Regions from separate parts of the Homo sapiens genome. Here region 2 is linked to region 1. Evidence: promoter capture Hi-C in human tissues and cell types (Jung and others, 2019). All regions are on one chromosome and are shown on one strand. Each heading gives the region's core, a stretch centred on a gene start or on the middle of the fragment in contact. The rest is flanking DNA. Distances are from core to core; before and after follow the strand shown. Region 1 holds the start of EPHX3 (epoxide hydrolase 3). Region 2 overlaps NOTCH3 (notch receptor 3).

What was found. Contacts are between HindIII fragments. The study calls those that stand out against the background at their distance.
Region 2: a fragment that was not itself captured here is called in contact with the fragment with the promoter of EPHX3 in region 1 in 5 of the 25 tissues and cell types used here (IMR-90 fibroblasts, dorsolateral prefrontal cortex, heart right ventricle and 2 more).

The regions. Positions count from the first base shown.
Region 1 is chr19:15,231,107-15,233,829 of GRCh38, forward strand. EPHX3 (epoxide hydrolase 3) reads right to left here and starts at 1,342. Exons shown (of 7, transcript NM_024794.3): 1 at 863-1,342; 2 at 670-755; 3 at 133-290. The coding sequence starts at 1,105. RefSeq lists an enhancer at 1,092-1,593 and a silencer at 1,932-2,091. The HindIII fragment of the contact is 16,546 bases long and covers 1-2,723 here.
Region 2 is chr19:15,188,485-15,191,207 of GRCh38, forward strand. It overlaps NOTCH3 (notch receptor 3), which reads right to left. Exons shown (of 33, transcript NM_000435.3): 7 at 789-944; 8 at 505-690. Among named protein-coding and RNA genes, the nearest start is that of MIR6795, 10 kb to the left of the region's middle. The HindIII fragment of the contact is 6,552 bases long and covers 1-2,723 here.

The DNA of each region.
Region 1 (2,723 bases), core at 92-2,591:
AGCTCGCATAAGTGAGGTGCCCAGTAGGACTGAAGCAGGGATGGGGGAAGTAGGTTCCAGCAAGGAGAAAGCGGGGGTATGCGTGTGTGCAGGATGAGGGAGGCCACGCCTAGGATGGGGGTATGTCTGCACCCAGGCCTAGGATGACATCTTTGATGTCCACCAGCAGCAGGTCGATTGTGTAGCAGTCCACATCCCGAGGTGCATCCGAGGGGCCATAGCCTCGCAAGTCCACAGCCACAACATGGAAGCGGCTCTGGAACTCCCGGAGCTGGTAACGCCAGGAGAACCTGCCAGGCGGGCGAGGGAGGGAGGCTGAGTCAGGGCCCTCAGGTTGCACCTGCACCCTACGCACATCAGCAACCATTGGCAAACCCTCCTTCCTGCTCTAAACTTCCCCTAAAAGGAGGATGGGGAATCCCAGGCAGAGGCAGAGGCTGAGGCTGAAGCCAGCTACACCCTGAATCCAGGGAACTTCAATCAACCTCAATACCCCTTTGTCCTGTCCCTTCAGGGCCTAGGGATCCTGGGTATGCTGGCTCAGTACCCCTATCCCCATCTATGTTCAGCTTGTCCCGATCTATACAGCCCTCCTCCCTGCCTCTTGGGAGCCCAAGCTCCACCTGCCCCCGAGTCCCGTGGGCCTCAGGCCCCTGGCCCCAGACGTACCAGTTCTCAGGGAAGCCGTGCAGAAACAGCATGAGGGGTCCGTTACCTCGTCCAGCCGAGACATAGTGCAGACGCAGGCCCGAGCTCTAGGGGGAGGGCACAGCCTGAAGCCTGGGGAACCCTCTCTCCCGAGGCTTGAACCGTCTCGACCCCACGCGACCCCGCAGCCCCGATAGCGCCCCCGTGCGATCACCTTGAGGTTCAGGAAACCGTGCTCACCCAGCGAGGGGTCGCTCAGGCAGGCGGGGGACGCGCTCCGACGGCGCCCGCAGCAGCCGCGCCGGGGCCGGCACAGCACGTGCGTGAGCGCTATGCAGCCGTAGACCGCCGCGGCCACCAGCGCCACCGAGAACACCAGGCTCCACATGAAGGCGCGCAGCAGCTTCAGCGACAGGCGCGACGGCGCCAGCAGCGCGGTCACCACCAGCTCCGGCATGTCGCCGCGCTCCGGGACCACGGCGGCGCTGCCGGCCAGGGGCACCTGCAGCAGCGGCGAAGCGGTGTCAGGGCTCAGGGGCCCATCGCCCTTGGCCTGGGGCCCCTCCGTGCCGTCGGGATTTGTGGGACGCGCTGAAGGAAGAGGCGGGCGGCTCCGACAGAAAACAGCCAGAGCGCACCACTCACCTGAGTGCCAGGTAAACACCTGGGCGCGACAGGGACAGGAAACAAGGGTAGGGTGCGGAGGCTGGGGAGGAAGAGGTTGGAAAGGGGGGAAATAAATGGGCGGGGCCTAGCAGGTCCTGTGCGGGGCTTAGGGCCGGGGCGGGGCCCAGGAAGACTCAGCAGCGGGTGGGTGAGGGTCTAAAGGCGGCAATTCCGGGCCGGGTGCGGTGGCTCACGCCTGTAATCCCAGCACTTTGGTAGGCCGAGGCGGGCGGATCACCTGAGATCAAGAGCTCGAGACCAGCCTGGGCAACGTGGTGAAACCCCGTCTCTACTAAAAATACAAAAATTAGCTGGGCGTGGTGGCGGGCGCCTGTAGTCCCAGCTACTTGGGAGGCTGAGGCAGGAGAATCGCTTGAACCCGGGACGTGGAGGTTGCAGTGAGCTGAGATCGCGCCACTGTACTCCAGCCTGGGTCACAACAGGGAAACTCCGTCTCAAAAAAGAAAAAAAAAAAAGGCAATTCCGAGCCCAGACAAACCTTAAGGAGGGGATCCTGGATCTTCAGTTAAGTGGGCGACACCTGGAGTGAGGGGCGGGGCATATGCAGAGTAGGTGCGGCCTACAAGCCAAAAAGGAGAAAGAGTTGGAATGGTGGGCCTGGCTTATGCGGGTGGGCGGGGAGAGGGTGGATCCTAGAGGAGGTGAGGCCTAACATTGGGCGAAGAAGGCGGGAGCCTGGGCCAATGAGCTGACGGTAGGCCGGGGAGGGGGCGGTGGGGTGGGGTGGGCAATGGGCAATGAGACGGAGGGCGGGGCCGGGACCTAATATGGCGGGTCAGGAGGGTCTGGAAGACGAAGAAGAGGGACAGGCAATGCCAGGTCTAGGACTAGGAGGGAGGCGCGGGCGGTATTAGCGGCTGGAGGAGGCTTCGGGAGGCCCGGCCGACGGCCGCCGCCTGGTGCTACCCACCCAGGGGCGCGCGACCCTCCCTTCGGTCTGGCTCCAAAGACCTAGCAGCACTGACTTCACCCAGCTGTGGTTCCAACGGCGGGTCCAGCGGCCTCGGCCCGGCGCCGTCCTCCTGCTGGCCCAACAGGCCCGCCAGCCCGCCCCTGTACGTCTGTGATTGGACGGCGGCGGCCACTGATGTTCAAGCGACAGGTCCTGGCCCGGGAGCCAATCTGCAGGTGTTGAGGCCCAGGCTCCGAGAGCGGGCCGAGGAGGCGTGGATACCCTGATTCCTAGGGGGCAGGCCTGGTTCCCCCGAGGAGGACCCGGCCTATGAATGACTGGAGTTCTGGGGTTCTGGCCGAAAGAGGAAGTGGGACAGGGCCGGGTGTGATGGGGCCTAGAGTCACAGAGCCTTGCGGCCCTGCTGTCCCTGCAAGAAGCCAGCTTCTGGCCAGGCGCGGTGGCTCACGCCTGTAATCCCAGCACTTTGGGAGGC
Region 2 (2,723 bases), core at 1-2,500, 43 kb before region 1:
ACCTTAATTTTCAGCCACAGGCTGGACTGTCACCCAGCCGTGGTCCCAACTGGCCCAAGGCTCATGGGTGTCCGCAGAGGCCTTGCCTTCAAACCCCTCCTCCTCTCCCCAGTCCTCAGACTAAGCCCTTTCCCCAGTCCCCAGCCCCCAGCCCCAGGGCCCCCCATAGCCTTTGCCCAGGCTTACTGCAAGCTTGTCTGCAGGCTTCACCTTGACCTCACAGCAGCCCCGACTCTGCCTCTCTATCCCCAACCCCTTCCCGAGTGGGTCCTAAGGCCAAGAATACTCCCAGCCCACCTGAGGTTCTACTGACTCCATTTGACCAAGCCCCCAGAATCACACAGTATTCCCTTCTGGTCCTGACCCCACCTCCTTCCAGGCTTCAGTCTCTAAGGGTCCCACTCCAAACCCACTTACACCCCATTCTGCTCAGCTCCCCATCCGCGGGCTTCTCTGTCCCCGCCCCCTGCCTCAGGACCCGCCCAGGCCACGCCCACCACCCACCTGCCATACAGATACAGGTGAACTGGCCTATGCGGTCGAGGCACGTGGCCTGGTTTCGGCAGGGCCCCGACAGACACTCGTTGACATCGGTCTCACAGCGAGGTCCAGTGTAGCCACGACCGCACTGGCACAGGAAGGAGCCCTGCGTGTTCACGCACCTGCCCAAGTGCTCGCAGGGGTTGGCGCCTGCCGGATGGAGTGCGATCGGTGTGGGCGTGGCTGGCCGGGACCCCCTCCTCTCCCCTCTTTCCCAGCCCATTCACAGACGATGGAGCTCCCCTCACCGATAGAGCACTCGTCCACATCCTGGTCACATGCCCCACCCGTGAAGCCGGGAGGACAGGTGCAAATGGCCCGGCCGTTCACCGGATTTGTGTCACAGATAGCATCCTCGTGGCAGGGGTTGCTGACACAGGCGTCATCCAGGTGACACAGGAGGCCTGGGAAGTGGTAAGCAGAAGTCATAGGCAGATCTTCCTGCTCTGCCCAAAAGGCCCACACCCCTTGAGTATTGTTTTGTCGTTGTTGTTGTTTTGTTTTGTTTTTTGAGACGAAGTTTCGCTCTTGTTGCCCAAGCTGGAGTACAATAGCGCGATCTTGGCTCACTGTAACCTCCACCTCCCAGGTTCAAGCGATTCTCCTGCTCAGCCTCCCGAGTAGCTGGGATTACAGGCATGTGCCACCACGCCCGGCTAATTTTTTGTATTTTTAGTAGAAACGGGGTTTCACCAAGTTAGCCAGGTTGGTCTCAAACTCCTGACCTCAGGTGATCTGCCTGCCTCAGCCTCCCAAAGTGCTGGGATTACAGGCGTGAGCCACCGCGCCCGGCCTGTTGTTTTTATTAAACCTAAACAGTATTTAGTAGCTGCTTTTTTAATCCATTTATTATGAGAACTATCAAACATACAGAAAAGTTGACCATTCATATACCCACCACCTAGATTCAACTATTGTTAGCTTAATCTACCAATCTTCTTTTCTAAACCATTTAAAAATAAATTGCAGACCGGGCACAGTGGCTCACGTCTATAATCCTAGCACTTTGGGAGGCCAAGGTGAGTGCATCGCTTGAGTTCAAGAGTTCAAGACCAGCCTGGGCAATATAGTGAGACCCGTCTCTACAAAAAATACAAAGCTTAGCCGGGCATGGTGGCGCACGCCTGTAATCCCAGCTACTTGGGGGACTGAGGTGGGAGGATCACTTGAGCCCAGGAAGTCGAGGCTGCAGTGAGCTGAGATCATGCCACTGTACTCCAGCCTGGGTGACAAAGTGAGACTCTGTCTCAAAAATAAAATAAAATAAATTGCAAACATCCACATATTGTTTTAAAACCTTTTGACTCTTCTGATTACAAAAGGGTCCTACACTCCAGCCTTTGCTTCTGTAATACCCTCTGCCATGTATGCCCTCTTTCTATATCCACGTTCCCCTCCTAAACATGTTCTCTGATCTTTGCCACTTCCAAAGGTAACTCCCAGGAGTTCCCCATTCCAATGGCTTCTGCCCTGAGCCATGCATCAGTGCAATGTCAGCCTCCTCCCAAGCCTCTCCCAGGCTTACACTTCCCCACTAAAGCTGCCTCCAGCATCATCTTTTTTTCTCTCTCTTTTTTGTTATACACGGTCTTACACTGTCTCCCAGGCTGGAACGCAGTGGCTCAGTCTCAGCTCACTGCAACCTCCACCTTCTGGGCTCAAGCCATCCTTCAACCTTAGCATCCAGAGTAGCTGGGACTACAGGCATGCGCTACCATGCCCAGCTAATTTTTTGTATTTTTGGTAGAGATAGGGTTTTGCCATGTTGCCCAGGCTGGTCTCAAACTGCTGAGCTCAAGCAATCTACCCGCCTGGGCCTCCCAATGTGTTGGGGTTACAGGCGTGAGCCACCACACCCAGCCTACCAAGTTTTTGTAGAGATGACAAAAACTCACTATGTTGTCCAGGCTGGTCTCAAAGTCCTGGGCCCAAGCGATCCTCCCATCTTGGCCTCCCAAAGTGCTGGGATTACAGGCATGAGCCACTGTGCCCGGCCTAGCATAATCTTTTTTTTATTTTTTAAATTTGAGAAGGAGTCTCACTCTGTCACCCAGGCTAGAGTGCAGTGGTGCAATCTTGGCTCACTGCAATCTCCACCTCCTGGGTTCAAGCTACTCTCGTGCCTTAGCCTCCTGAGAGACTTGGATTACAGGTGTGCACCACCACGCGCAGCTAATTTTTGT